Linked DNA regions of Homo sapiens: region 1 is linked to region 2. The links are contacts of gene promoters, found by promoter capture Hi-C in human tissues and cell types (Jung and others, 2019). All regions are on one chromosome and are shown on one strand. The core of a region is centred on a gene start or on the middle of the fragment in contact, and the rest is flanking DNA. Distances in the headings are between cores, read along the strand shown.

Region 1 (5,977 bases), core at 3,132-5,631, 560 kb after region 2:
TAATCTTTTTTCTTTAACTCCTTATCTCCTGGCTGCATTCTGGGTAACTTGGATTTATCTTGATGTTTATTATTTTTTCCCTTCTTTCAGGAGGTGCAGGGCTTCCTTTTAAATTGAATGATAAATTCAACGATTTAATGATTAAATTGTATGATATTAATTCTCTCTTCATCTGTGCATAACATGCTGTCTAGAACATTTCAAGAATTATACTTTTTATTTCATCTGCATTTTTGATAGTCCTTAGTTCCTGCTTATTTTTAAAAATTCTATTTTGGATTGTAATAGTTCTTTCCTATTTCAAATCTGATCATGCCAATCATCTGAAGTCTTTGTTCAGAAAGTAAAATACTCTATACTGATGAATTGCTTTTGCAAACTCTCACTCTGCTGGTTTGTTTCCTTAGGTATATGAAGATTGTGTGTTTGACTATGTTTGACCACACAATCCATGAGAGTTCTGTGTTCTTGGGTTGCTTTCCTCCACAGATAATGTGCCTACAAGGAACTCCTAACATTTCAACTTTATCCACTTTCAGAGGTGGGTCCCAGGTCCAAATCTACTCCTGGTGTGGGCGTCTGCCCCCAGGAAAAATCCAGCTTCTTGCTATGCTCAAGTCCAGTCTTAGCCCACTGTTATGTTCTCTTGTTTGCAGTTGTTTTTGTTTGCTTGTTTTGGCCTTGAAAACTCTGCGTTTGCTTATGAGGTCAGCAATGCTTGAAAAATCGTGCTTTTTATAATCTATTCAGAATCTATCGGTACTTTAGCTAATCGACTCTTCATAATGTCTAGTCTGCCGGATTGTTAGATGTCAGAAGTCTAATAAATGACAGTTATTATTGATTCAGAAAATACAGCTTTTATACCACGGGGCCATGTGGGATCCAGTCTTGGAGTGCTGAGAAATTAATAAACAGTTATTCAAAGAGGTTGACAAACATAATTGATTGTTGCTGAGTTACACAGATTTTTGAATCAGCATTTTCGAAATTGGAATTAGGTCTTCATAATGTAAATTTGTTTTGACACAGCTGCCATTTCAGATTCAAATGACAGAATTTGGTCTGGAGGAAGCAGCATACACTGTTCAGTTGTTCAACAAGGCGGTACTGATGCCACTGATAACACGGCTTCCTGCGGCAAGTCTTTCTGCCAGTTCACATCAAAATATGCATCTAGCATGACGGAAAAAGTGACCTTTTGGATCCCCAAGTTCATTTTCTTATTGTCTCCTTCTCTCCCTTTTCTCCTCTTGCTGGCTGGCAAAACTACATCTAGATCTTAAGTTTAAACCCCAAAGGGAAGCAAACCATTAAGAATCGAATGGGTGCTTGTCCGAGAATCTTAGGCCCTCCAACATCAGAAATTTACAAGACAGAAAATAAAAGAATGTGCCTTTTCGGTGGGAATAAAGATGGTTTTGTAGTGTATCCTGTGTGCTGGAATAACTAATCTAGTTGAGGTCTTCATAATAAGATGCACCCTTCTATTTTCACTCATCTCAGATATGAATTATTAAAGACTGTCTTATTGTTCCTCTGTAAGTTCTGCATATAATGTAGAACTCATCTTGAAAAAAAGGAAAAACTGGAAGTAACAGAAAGAAAAATAATGCATCTGGAGCTTATGACTCCCGCCCATCGTTAAATCACTTCTTGTACTTTTGTACCAAAACATTTTCCCCATTTTATTTCCATCTTGTGCAGAAGGTAATTACCCTTCAGAGACACCTGCAGGGAGAGGCTACGAGGATGTCTGATAATTTTTAATGTGTTTGTCTCTATATTTTCTTTCCAACATTCTACTAAGTCAAGCACATCTGCTGTAAAGCGTCAGTGGAGGATGACTTCATTAAATGTTAAATACTGTTTTCTGCCTTTACAAGTGTTTGTCCTACACAAAATCCTCAAATGGTAGGGGCAAGCAGGAGGGTCACAAAAATCTTTATGAACCCCAAACTGCCCCTTGCAATAGGCCACCCACTGCGATGCTGTTCGTTTCTTACAAGCGTTAACCACCCGCTGCTTTTCCCAGTAGAACAACTGTTATAATAATATCTCTACATAATCATTTTAATGATAACTTGAGACAATATATTTGTTGACTAGAAACAATCTTTAGGATGTGTAAAACTTATTTGTACCACAGCCGATCATTCAAAATGAAAAAAAAAGTAGACATAAGCCTTATATTGCTTTTCCCAAAATCTATTTCTTTGCCTTTACATATATAATCAGAAATATAGATTTCAATCTATTTTATATTCACTTTGGAATCTTCCCGTTCTATAATTTTAAGCCCTAGGAAAATCTGAGACTGTTAGTTTTCCTTTTAGTGCCATCTGCTGGTCTAGTTATTCTGACTGGGTTCTAGTTTGTTCACTAGAGAAACTCAGGGTTTTCATACAATGAAAAATTTTCACGCAGAAATCTTGCTAAAAGATTTTTATTTCACATGAACCTAATATTTGTTATATTTGAATTTGGAGATCTTTTTTACTTAATCCCCAAAGTTATAATTATCATGACTTAAAGTAATTTTTTATGTGTATCCATATCTATGTTATTTTATATTATATGTTATTACAATGTATTGAGTCTGACAAGCTGACTTTTCTATTTCCCTTGATAGTTACAAAAGTTTGGAAAGTTAACATTAATGTTTAATTACTTAATTTCAAAGAATGAAAATTTAAGGCTACAGAAAAAAATTGATAACTTGAACATTTTATATGATTTCAGTGAACTGTTTCTAACCTCAGAAAAAAACATTTACACTTAACCATATACACTATTAAAAATGTGGGTTTTGAACTGGCGAGTCTTGGATACTTTCTGCATTATCATATTTAGTTATGAGCAATTTTGTTCTGGTTTTCTGTAGTCTATGACTGACACCTACCAAAATCCCAGATGTTCATTTATTGTATTGTTTCAAATAGATGTCTATCCACAATTTGCAATCCATATGGCTTTCCAATAAAGGGTATTTCTCCAGCTCTGTGCTTGCATCCAGATCTGGAGGGTGCCCAGTGGTTTGCTTGCTGTGCCTCTGGCATGTTCACCATCTCAGTGGTTAGCCGAACACTGGAAAACATCCTCTCTTTCCTCTGCTCACTGATGAGATATAATTTATGTTGATTCAACTCTTCACAAATTGCCATCTGTCAGCTTTGTTTTTTCTAATCCCTCATCTCCTTCCTCCATTATAATTGTTCAAACTGGCAGAAGCTCAGGTATTGGCTTAGAGCAAAGGCTCTCTGTCAACAGAGAAGATCTCATTTGAAATCCACACCTCACTCATAAATTGCCTTCTTTTCAATCTTAACTGTGGCAATATTTTCATTTGGTTTCTCATCGTCCTCCGATTCACAGGAAATAAAACAGCAGCACCCACTGACATCTCTGGCTTCTGAGACTGGATTGAGAAGCACTTTGGCATCCATGTCTTCCAAATAATCTGCCTTCCTTGGTATTCTCTGGTCTTGTTTTAGGTTTCCAGGGGCTAGACATATGGAATATTGACAGTGAGAATACCCAGATTCCTGCTTCTTTGTGTGCCTGGGGCACAGATCAATTTTACTGAAGATTTTTGTCCGAAAGGGACTAACTTCTTATTCTTCATATAGATCTTTAAAAAATCTTTCTATAGCCCTGGAATATAGGAAAAGTCATTTAATGCTAATTAGAAAGTAGACAAGCACCATTTAATTAATAAGAATATTAAAACGTGATGAAAATCTTCATGTCAACAGACTAAAATTAAGCATAAGTAAATCTTAATGTTTTCAGAAGTGCTTTCCTTAAGCTGAAATTTCTCAACCTTGACACTACTGACATTTTGGGCCAGACAGTTATTGGTTGCGTGGGTCCTTCTAGTCACCGTGGGATGTTTAGCAACAACCCTGGCTTCTATCTACTGGCTCCTGCTAGTATCCCTGTCGCCCAGGTTGTGACAACCAAGAATGTCCCCAGACATTGCCAGATATCCCTTGGGAGATAAAAGTTACCCCTCCAACTGAGAAACAAAATCATTATATATGAACATTAATGAAAGAAAAATACTAAAATATGAGCGATTATCCAGAAGTCCAGGTGGTTTTGTTTAGCTTTCAAATGACCACACTGTAAGAGCAATGTCAAAGGAATTAAAACATGACACAAAAATACAGAATTTCAAAGGAGAGAGGAATATAAAAATATTTATTCCAGAAATGAAGAGCTAGGATGTAGCTCATGACCACAGACTGTGGACATCTTCCCAGCAAAACGTGAGGCCCGAACACAGGACTCATTAGTCAAATATTCTAACAGAGATGTTTCCAATGACGTTATTTTTTATTTTATAAGAAATCAGAAACCTGTGAAAACTTGTGATGTATTGCTGTTAGTGGCAAACTGCTTTTAAAACCACTGATCTGATGCATACAATCTGAGTGATAAAAGAAGGAAAAGTCTCTAATGGGTTATGTTAATGTCATGGTTCTTGGCCACAAGCCTTCCGAACACACCCTCATCGATGACCTGTCTATACTTGAGTTTTATGCATTTCCTGGAAGCAGAGTCCCTATGCTCCAAGTATGCACCAGATTATCTGGCAGCTTGTTACAGTGTTCAGCCTGATCCCCATTAAGCATGGGAGTCATACATTTGTAGTTCTGAGGAAGCTTTTCCGATGGACATGTTAATACATACCATGGCATTCTATTATAGCAAGTTTCCTTACTTCATGCAGTTGGATGTACCATGAGCTAAATCATGCCCTTGAAATATAAAATCTCATGCGATACAAATTTGATATAACATGGTTAGTTCTGAAATAGAAGTGTTAGGTCCAACCCAAATCCTTGCCTTATAAAGGAATTACATTTTAAACAATCATTCATACTGTATCATATCTACCACTTAAACTAGTGTCTGACTTTGTAGTTTAGGGCTAATGGAATCAATCATGCCCATTATGGTTGGTGGAGACAATATCTTAGAGCAGTTAAAACAATGGGTGACCTGACTTTGCTTACCTGTTTCTGCATCTATAAAATGGAGGATAATAATAGTTCCTGTGCCTCCTAGGTTTGTTATGAGGGTTAAATGAGATACTAGATATGAAACGTATAGTTCTGTATCTGGCATGTAGTAGTAAAGGCTCAATAGTTCTTAGCCACTAGTACTTTATTTAATTACATAATAAATATTTTTATGGAGGCCACCAGGTGACTGTGATAGTCTCTTTTACTCCAAATACTTCAATAGGTAACCTATTGAAGTAGAACTAGGGAAATTAACACCTAAAAAAAGTGGTTAGCCTTCTTAGAAGTAACCCAAGACATTTTGAGTGCTTGGTAGAAGAGATTGGCAAACTCTTAGGTAAAGTAACTGAAATTTTATAGAGAAATGTAGGACCAATATATTATATCCTAGCATACAACCAACAGGACATCGAAAGTCATCTTGGGATATTTAAAACAATTTAAGAAGGAGAAGGAGGTGAAACAGCAAGGATTTCAGTTTCTTTCCAACAGTGACGAGGGTCTTAACAAGCAGCTGTACCATTTCTGATCCCTGTGGTGGGTAGATGGTGGAAGCTGCCACACTGGACTATCACAGCTGAATTGCTGGATTGCTAAGATATGCTGCTGCTCTGATTCCTGCTTGCCAAAACCACCTTCTGAGAATCATTTGACTTCCCTTGTAGACTTCCCACTGGGACAATATGTCCTGGCATACACACATTGATGTTGTGGTCCACCTGGAAGTTATAGGGCTCACTGTAAATGACACCTTTGCATGCTTTGGGGGTCTGGTAAGTCTGTGACAGTTCAGAAAATGCCTCAAGAATGAGAAGCAGCACAGGACATGCAAAGCTAAGAACTCGGTCTCTGAAGATTGATCTGACCACAGGCGTTTGTACAGAACAACGTACTTTAAGTGATCTCTAGCTCAGTGATCTCAATATCTCTTCAATGCCTGAATACTT
Region 2 (6,466 bases), core at 3,867-6,366:
TGTGCCACATTTTCTTAATCCAGTCTATCATTGTTGGACATTTGGGTTGGTTCCAAGTCTTTGCTATCGTGAATAATGCCGCAATAAACATACGTGTGCATGTGTCTTTATAGCAACATGATTTATAGTCCTTTGGGTATATACCCAGTAATGGGATGGCTGGGTCAAATGGTATTTCCAGTTCTAGATCCCTGAGGAATCGTCACACTGACTTCCACAATGGTTGAACTAGTTTACAGTCCCACCAACAGTGTAAAAGTGTTCCTATTTCTCCACATCCTCTCCAGCACCTGTTGTTTCCTGACTTTTTAATGATTGCCATTCTAACTGGTGTGAGATGGTATCTCATTGTGGTTTTGATTTGCATTTCTCTGATGGCCAGTGATGATGAGCATTTTTTCATGTGTTTTTTGGCTGCATAAATGTCTTCTTTTGAGAAGTGTCTGTTCATGTCCTTTGCCCACTTTTTGATGGGGTTGTTTGTTTTTTTCTTGTAAATTTGTTGGAGTTCATTGTAGATTCTGGATATTAGCCGTTTGTCAGATAAGTAGGTTGCGAAAATTTTCTCCCATTTTGTAGGTTGCCTGTTCACTCTGGTGGTAGTTTCTTTTGCTGTGCAGAAGCTCTTTAGTTTAATTAGATCCCATTTGTCAATTTTGTCTTTTGTTGCCATTGCTTTTGGTGTTTTAGACATGAAGTCCTTGCCCATGCCTATTAAACTCCACTTTTATATGTATTGGGAAACCAAAAAATTTGTGTGATTTCCTTCATGCTATATTCATTTTATTGTGGTGGTCTGGAACCAGACTGGTAATATTTCCGAGGTATGTCTGTATTATACTACCTGCTATTTTTAAGAGAATTTGTGTCTAGCTACAGTTAATGGGGGCATATTGCTATTCAAGAATTCCCATCATCAAATTTTCAGGTTTTCTTCTTCCAGATCTTTGACTTTGAGATAGCATGGTTGTACCATCAATAACTATGAAAATAGGATTAAAGAGACTGCTATTTTTCCTTCTGGAGTTTTCATGCCTTTCTTTAAATGCCATTAGCTTATTCGGTATTGGTTGTAGTGGGAAGTGAAGCTTTTTTTTTTTTTATTGACAAGAGGATTCTTATCTTGTTCAGTTTATACAGACTCTAAGCATCATCAGAAAAATTATGTCTATGTTGGATTTTTAAAAATTCAAGGAAGTAGACCTGAAGGGAGTATTTTTAAGCTACTTTTTGATAACTTTGTTCAACTAAAAGAAAGCACAAATGTACAAGTAAGTAGATTTCTATATAGATTTTAAGTCATTTGTTCAAAATCACATAATGTGCATATTATCTTATTTATAAAGCTTTATGATATCATTTATTTAAAATTGGTTTTAGACTGGGCATGGTGGCTCATGTCTGTAATCTCAATACTTTGGGAGGCCAAGGCCGGAGGGTGGCTTGAGGCCAGGATTTCAAGACCAGCCTGGGCAAAACAGTAAGACTCTATCTCTACCAAAGTAAATAAATAAATAAAATTATTTTTAATTATTCAATATAATTTACACTTCTTTCTGAACCAGTATTTACATTTAAATAGTATGCTATGCAATTATTTATACCTCGACCCACTAAAGGAAGCTTAATATTGGACCATCCATGTAGGAAAACACAACTGTAACATAGAAAATTATTAACAGTGGCATTAACATGAAAATAAACTTGATGATAATAGTTGTTGAAGATAGTGACTAATGAAATATTTTTGGTTGCTGTGGAAAATTTGCTTGTCCAAGCAAGTATAGAATTCTGTTAAGATAACTTCTCCTCAGTTATACCAAAGCATATAAAGAAATTCACTCTGTGTTAAATTCTCCCAAATGGTCATATTCAAAATATATGCTAAGAAACAATCTCAAGTCTTAAAAACATATTAAACCCCATCTCTACAAATAGTTTAAAAATTAGCCAGGCATAGTGCTGTACACCTGTGGTCCCAGCTACCCAGGAGGCTGAGGCAGGAGGATCACCTGAGCCCAGAGGTCAAGGCTGCAGTGAGCTGTGGTGGCACCAGTGCACTCCAGCCTGGGTGATAAAGCGAGACCTTGTCTCAAAAAAACACAGAAAAAACCCACACTGCTACCAAGAGCCAATCCTGCTATTGATCAAATAATAAAGCAATGTAATTTAATCCTACTTAGAAAAGAAATATAGGCCAGGCCTTGTGGCTCATGACTGTAATGCCAGCACTTTGGGAGGTTAAGCGGGGAGGATTGCTTGACCCCAGCAATTTGAGACCAGCCTAGGCAATACAGTGAGACCTCCATCGCTACAAAAAAATTTAAAAAATTAGCCAGAAGTGGTGGCACATGCCTGTGGTCCCAGCTTCTCTGGAGGCTGAGGTGGGAGGATCAGTTGAGCTTGGGAGGTGGGGGCTACAGTGAGCCATGATCATACCACTGCACTCTAGCCTGGGTGACAGAGCAAGATCCTGTCTCAAAAAAGAAAAGTAAAGAAAAGAAACATACACAACCAGCCAGAAAAATGTAAACAAGTTTAGCGAAGTTTTTAAAATGGAGAGTTCCTTGGATAAAACCAGTCACTATCTTAGCAGGTGGAAAGTTTCATTTTCATTGACAATAGATGGACACATTATAGGACTGCTGTGCCTGTTATGTTTTGATGACCTCCAGAAAGGGGTTCTCTGTATCATGCCATCAGAAATTTCTATCTTAACAATAAACCATCCTTGTCTATCTGGTCAACTTTGCATTGAGAGTTGGTTGGATTCAACTGAATTATAAAAGTAAAATGCCTAGCAACTACCAATGCTATAAACCCCTTTGCTCATGATGGATCATTAGCAAAGTTATAAAAATCAACAATATGGCTATTTCATTTTAATCTGCAGCCGTTCAGATAAAAGGGATTTACTACAACAGCTTTCAAAAATTTTGTAAGAAGTGTACTAATGCGTTCCTGCTTATATTTCCATAAAATTTGAATAACAGTGTAGTTTAAGACAGATGTCAGCTTCTCTGAACAGAATCATATGTTGTCAGCACTATGCACCTATGCACTTACATTTAAGTAGCTGTAGATGAGGTTTCCTGCCTGTTTCAACTTGTTTCATTGGTGTATCCTTTTCCTTATGTAAACCCAGCCCCTGAAAACAGTGTGTCTGCTTTCATAAACTTAAACCAAATATAGTCAATAAACATGTTATAAAAACAATTGTTTCCCCCCAAGAAGTGAAGATAAGCTGATGTAAATTCACTTTATTTGGATTTCAATCCAGCTTTCTTCTTTGATTTCATATATTATAACATCAATATTCACTTTTCTGAAGGGCTCCTGGAACCAGAAGTGCACTTAACTCTTTCTGTGCTGGGGACATTTTGATATCTCTATTACTAATACCTAGAATCTCCAATGATAAATAAATACCTCTGGGATGGACTGGGGATACACTGCAATAATTGAAGCACTTTATCCTTCACCAAAAATGGTATCCGTGTTCCTGTGAGTAGCAGGGAGGTGGAACTCTCACCTGCTGAGTCCCGTTCTAATTTCATCCAATCTGGTGAACAAGTATCCAACCAAAGGTGGTACCTGCAGGCATGCCCATTGTCACAGTAATGCAACACTGTAAGTCCTTAGCACAATGTTAAAATTGGTTGGAACTGAGTTTCAAATGTTTTCCTCTCGCTACTGAGGTCTTCTACTTCTTTCTTTTTCTCTTTGTCTCTAATATCTTTTTCTTTTTGTTTTTCTTTTTCTTCTTCTTTTTTTTTTTTTTGAGTTGGAGTTTCGCTCTGTTGCCCAGGCTGGAGTGCAGTGGTACTATCTCAGCTCACTGGAGCCTCTGCCTCCCAGGTTCAAGCGATTCTAGTGTCTCAGCCTCCCGAGTAGTTGAGATTACAGGCGCCCGCCACCACACCCAGCTAATTTCGTATTTTTAGTAGAGACAGGGTTTCACCATGTTGGCCAGGCTGGTCTCGAACTCCTGACCTCAAGTGATCCGCCCTCTTCGGCCTCCCAAAGTGCTGGGATTACAGATGTGAGCCGCCATACCTGGCTAATATATTTTTCTTAACTGACTAGAGCACAGAACACAAATCGTGTGTTTGCACTTACAAATTTCTATGATCATTGTTCCTAGTTTAAAAACTTCATTAGCAAAGGGGTTTATATTTCTCTTTTCAGTAAGGACACGAAATTATGTTTCAACAATGCCCAGTCTCACCTAAAAAGCAAGTTTTCATTCTCTGTTTATGGTAGCCCACGACAAACCAAAAAGATCATTTTGGATGGTATCATTGTTAATCCTGCTAAATGATTCAATTTCCTGCTGAAAGCAACAAACTAATACTTATTTAGTACCTACTATTTATTATTTGCATACTAGGGTTTATACACAAGGCGTCCTATGAAAGAACATTTCATTCAAAAGTCACAACATATAGTCTTCAATTATCAGCTACCTTTATTTGTAAGCCAAAATAAATGATTTAATACAGTCCTCCCAAACTGGGAGACAATGCTTTGAGAAAGGCCAAAGCTAGCCAGTAAGGCCATAAGTTCCATGAGGGCAGGATCTACCCAGCTCCTGTTTCCTGCTCAATTCCAAGCAGTTAGAACAGGGTCAGTAAACACTGCTTGCCACTTGGAAAGAGTATTCTTTTATTTGGAAATGGTATCCAGGTACTCGTGAGTAGCAAAGTCAAGAGCAGGAAAGGGGAGTGGGGGAGGTTGCAAAATCGGAGCGAGCAGCAGGACCGAGAGGGATCCGGAGGAGAGAGCCTTCAGACGGTGAACCCCAAGAGCTGGGATGAAGCATGGGTGAGCTACTGGGACTTCGCTGCCAGGGAGCAAGCTGGCAGGCAGGAAGTAGCCAAGATTTGGGGGAATCCTTCCCAGGGAACGAATACAGAGAAGGACGCATCTGAAAATTCCGCCGCAGCCACCTCCCTCCCATGGGAAAGCCCCGACCTCGGCGGGCCCAGCGCCACCCGGCTCCCCGGGGTGTGGAACACTGAGCGAGGCAGGTGCGGCGGGAGCATGCGCGCGGGGCGGGCAGGGGGCGGCTCCCGCGCCCCCACCCCGCGCGTGCACCCTCGCGCCCCTCCCGCCGGGCACCGCGGGGCAGCGGCGCCGCAGCCTGGGCTGGCGGAACCTCGCGCTCCGACTCGCCCCCCGCCTGTAGCTCGGTCGGCGTTGCGGGCAGGCGCCGCTCCGCTGGGGGTAAGAAGGACGCCGCCGCCCGCGTGGGATGGTCGCGAGCCCGCGTGGGTGCCCACGGCCGCCGCCGCGCGGGGTGGCCCCATCCCCGGGCAGGTAGAGGGGCCTGCACGACTCCCGCGGCGAGGGCCGGGCCGGTGGGGGCGGTGGCGGTTGGGGATAGCCCCGGTCCCGGCCCAGGCTCTTTCTCTTTCTCTTTCGCCGCCGGGGCGCGCGCCGGGCTCCCCGCGAGAGGCGCTGCCTCACTTGTCGCCTACTTTGGACGGGCGCGGCCGCCGCAGAGCCCGGCGCCTCGGTCAGCCGCGAGGGCAGGGTCGGGGTGCCAGGCGCGGCTACCTGGGCGCCCTGGAGCCAGCGCAGCCTGGGACCGGGGGAGCGGGACGGGACGGGACTCCTGAGGGCCCCCAGGCAGTCCTCCGGCCATCGAGCGCCCGGCGGTGGGCATTTGGCTTTTGTTTCCTCTGGGGCTAACGCCCCCGTCTGCCCGCGTGTCCCCCTCAGCCGACAAGTGTCGTGTGCCCGGACGGGCGAGCGCTGCCTCCCTCCACCCGCTTTCTGCCCTTGTCTTCCTCTGCGAGTTCTGCCCAGCCTCGGGAGCGGGAGCCCAGGGAGTGCGCGCAGGGCGGGCGGGCGCCTGGCCAGCCTGGGACGGCGGCTCTCAGGCTCCTGCCACCGCCTGGAACTGCGGGGGGCGCGCCGGCCACAGTCGCCCTCGCCTGCTCTCCGGGCCTTCTTGGGCCCGCTTGGTCCCAGGTGGACGCGAGTCGAGCTGGGCACACCTGGGCCAGCGCCGCACTTACCTGCGGGATTGGTGAGAGCGTTTTCGCGAGGTCGCAAATTCCGGGTGGGTATTGTCCCCTGCTTTTGATCTCCCTTAGTCACTGGTTAAAGTGCGAAGTGTGCTTTATCTTACATATGCCTTTAGAGGGACATTCTTAATGCGCCAATGCCCCGAGGTGGAACTAAATAAAGGGAAGGCCTGGTCATTGTTACTGTTGAGACTGCTGTACTTAACAGTCAGAGGAAGGCAGCTGGTCACCACGACCCACTCGGCCATTCCCATGCTGAAGACTCGCTCTCACTTCACACTTGTTTGGACTCCACTATGACTTGCTGGTGGCCCATCTCCTGGATCCTTCTGTTGGAGCTGTTCTAGAAGATGCTTGTGGCAGGCTCCAGTTTCAGTCCTTGGCTGAAATAAGTGTAGTGTGGCTCTTCGGTTTTCTAATCTATTCCACCTAAA

What was found. The method cuts DNA at HindIII sites, captures the fragments that hold promoters and counts their contacts. A contact is called where the count stands out against the background at its distance.
Region 1: a fragment that was not itself captured here is called in contact with the fragment with the promoter of L3MBTL4 in region 2 in 1 of the 25 tissues and cell types used here (dorsolateral prefrontal cortex).

Annotation. Positions count from the first base shown.
Region 1 is chr18:5,848,579-5,854,555 of GRCh38, reverse strand. The region is part of intron 4 of MIR3976HG (MIR3976 host gene); the gene reads right to left. Among named protein-coding and RNA genes, the nearest start is that of MIR3976, 11 kb to the right of the region's middle. The HindIII fragment of the contact is 4,810 bases long and covers 1,977-5,977 here.
Region 2 is chr18:6,413,561-6,420,026 of GRCh38, reverse strand. It overlaps L3MBTL4 (L3MBTL histone methyl-lysine binding protein 4), which reads left to right and starts at 5,116. Exons shown (of 19, transcript NM_001330559.2): 1 at 5,116-5,226. RefSeq lists a silencer at 5,074-5,613. The HindIII fragment of the contact is 7,728 bases long and covers 1-6,466 here.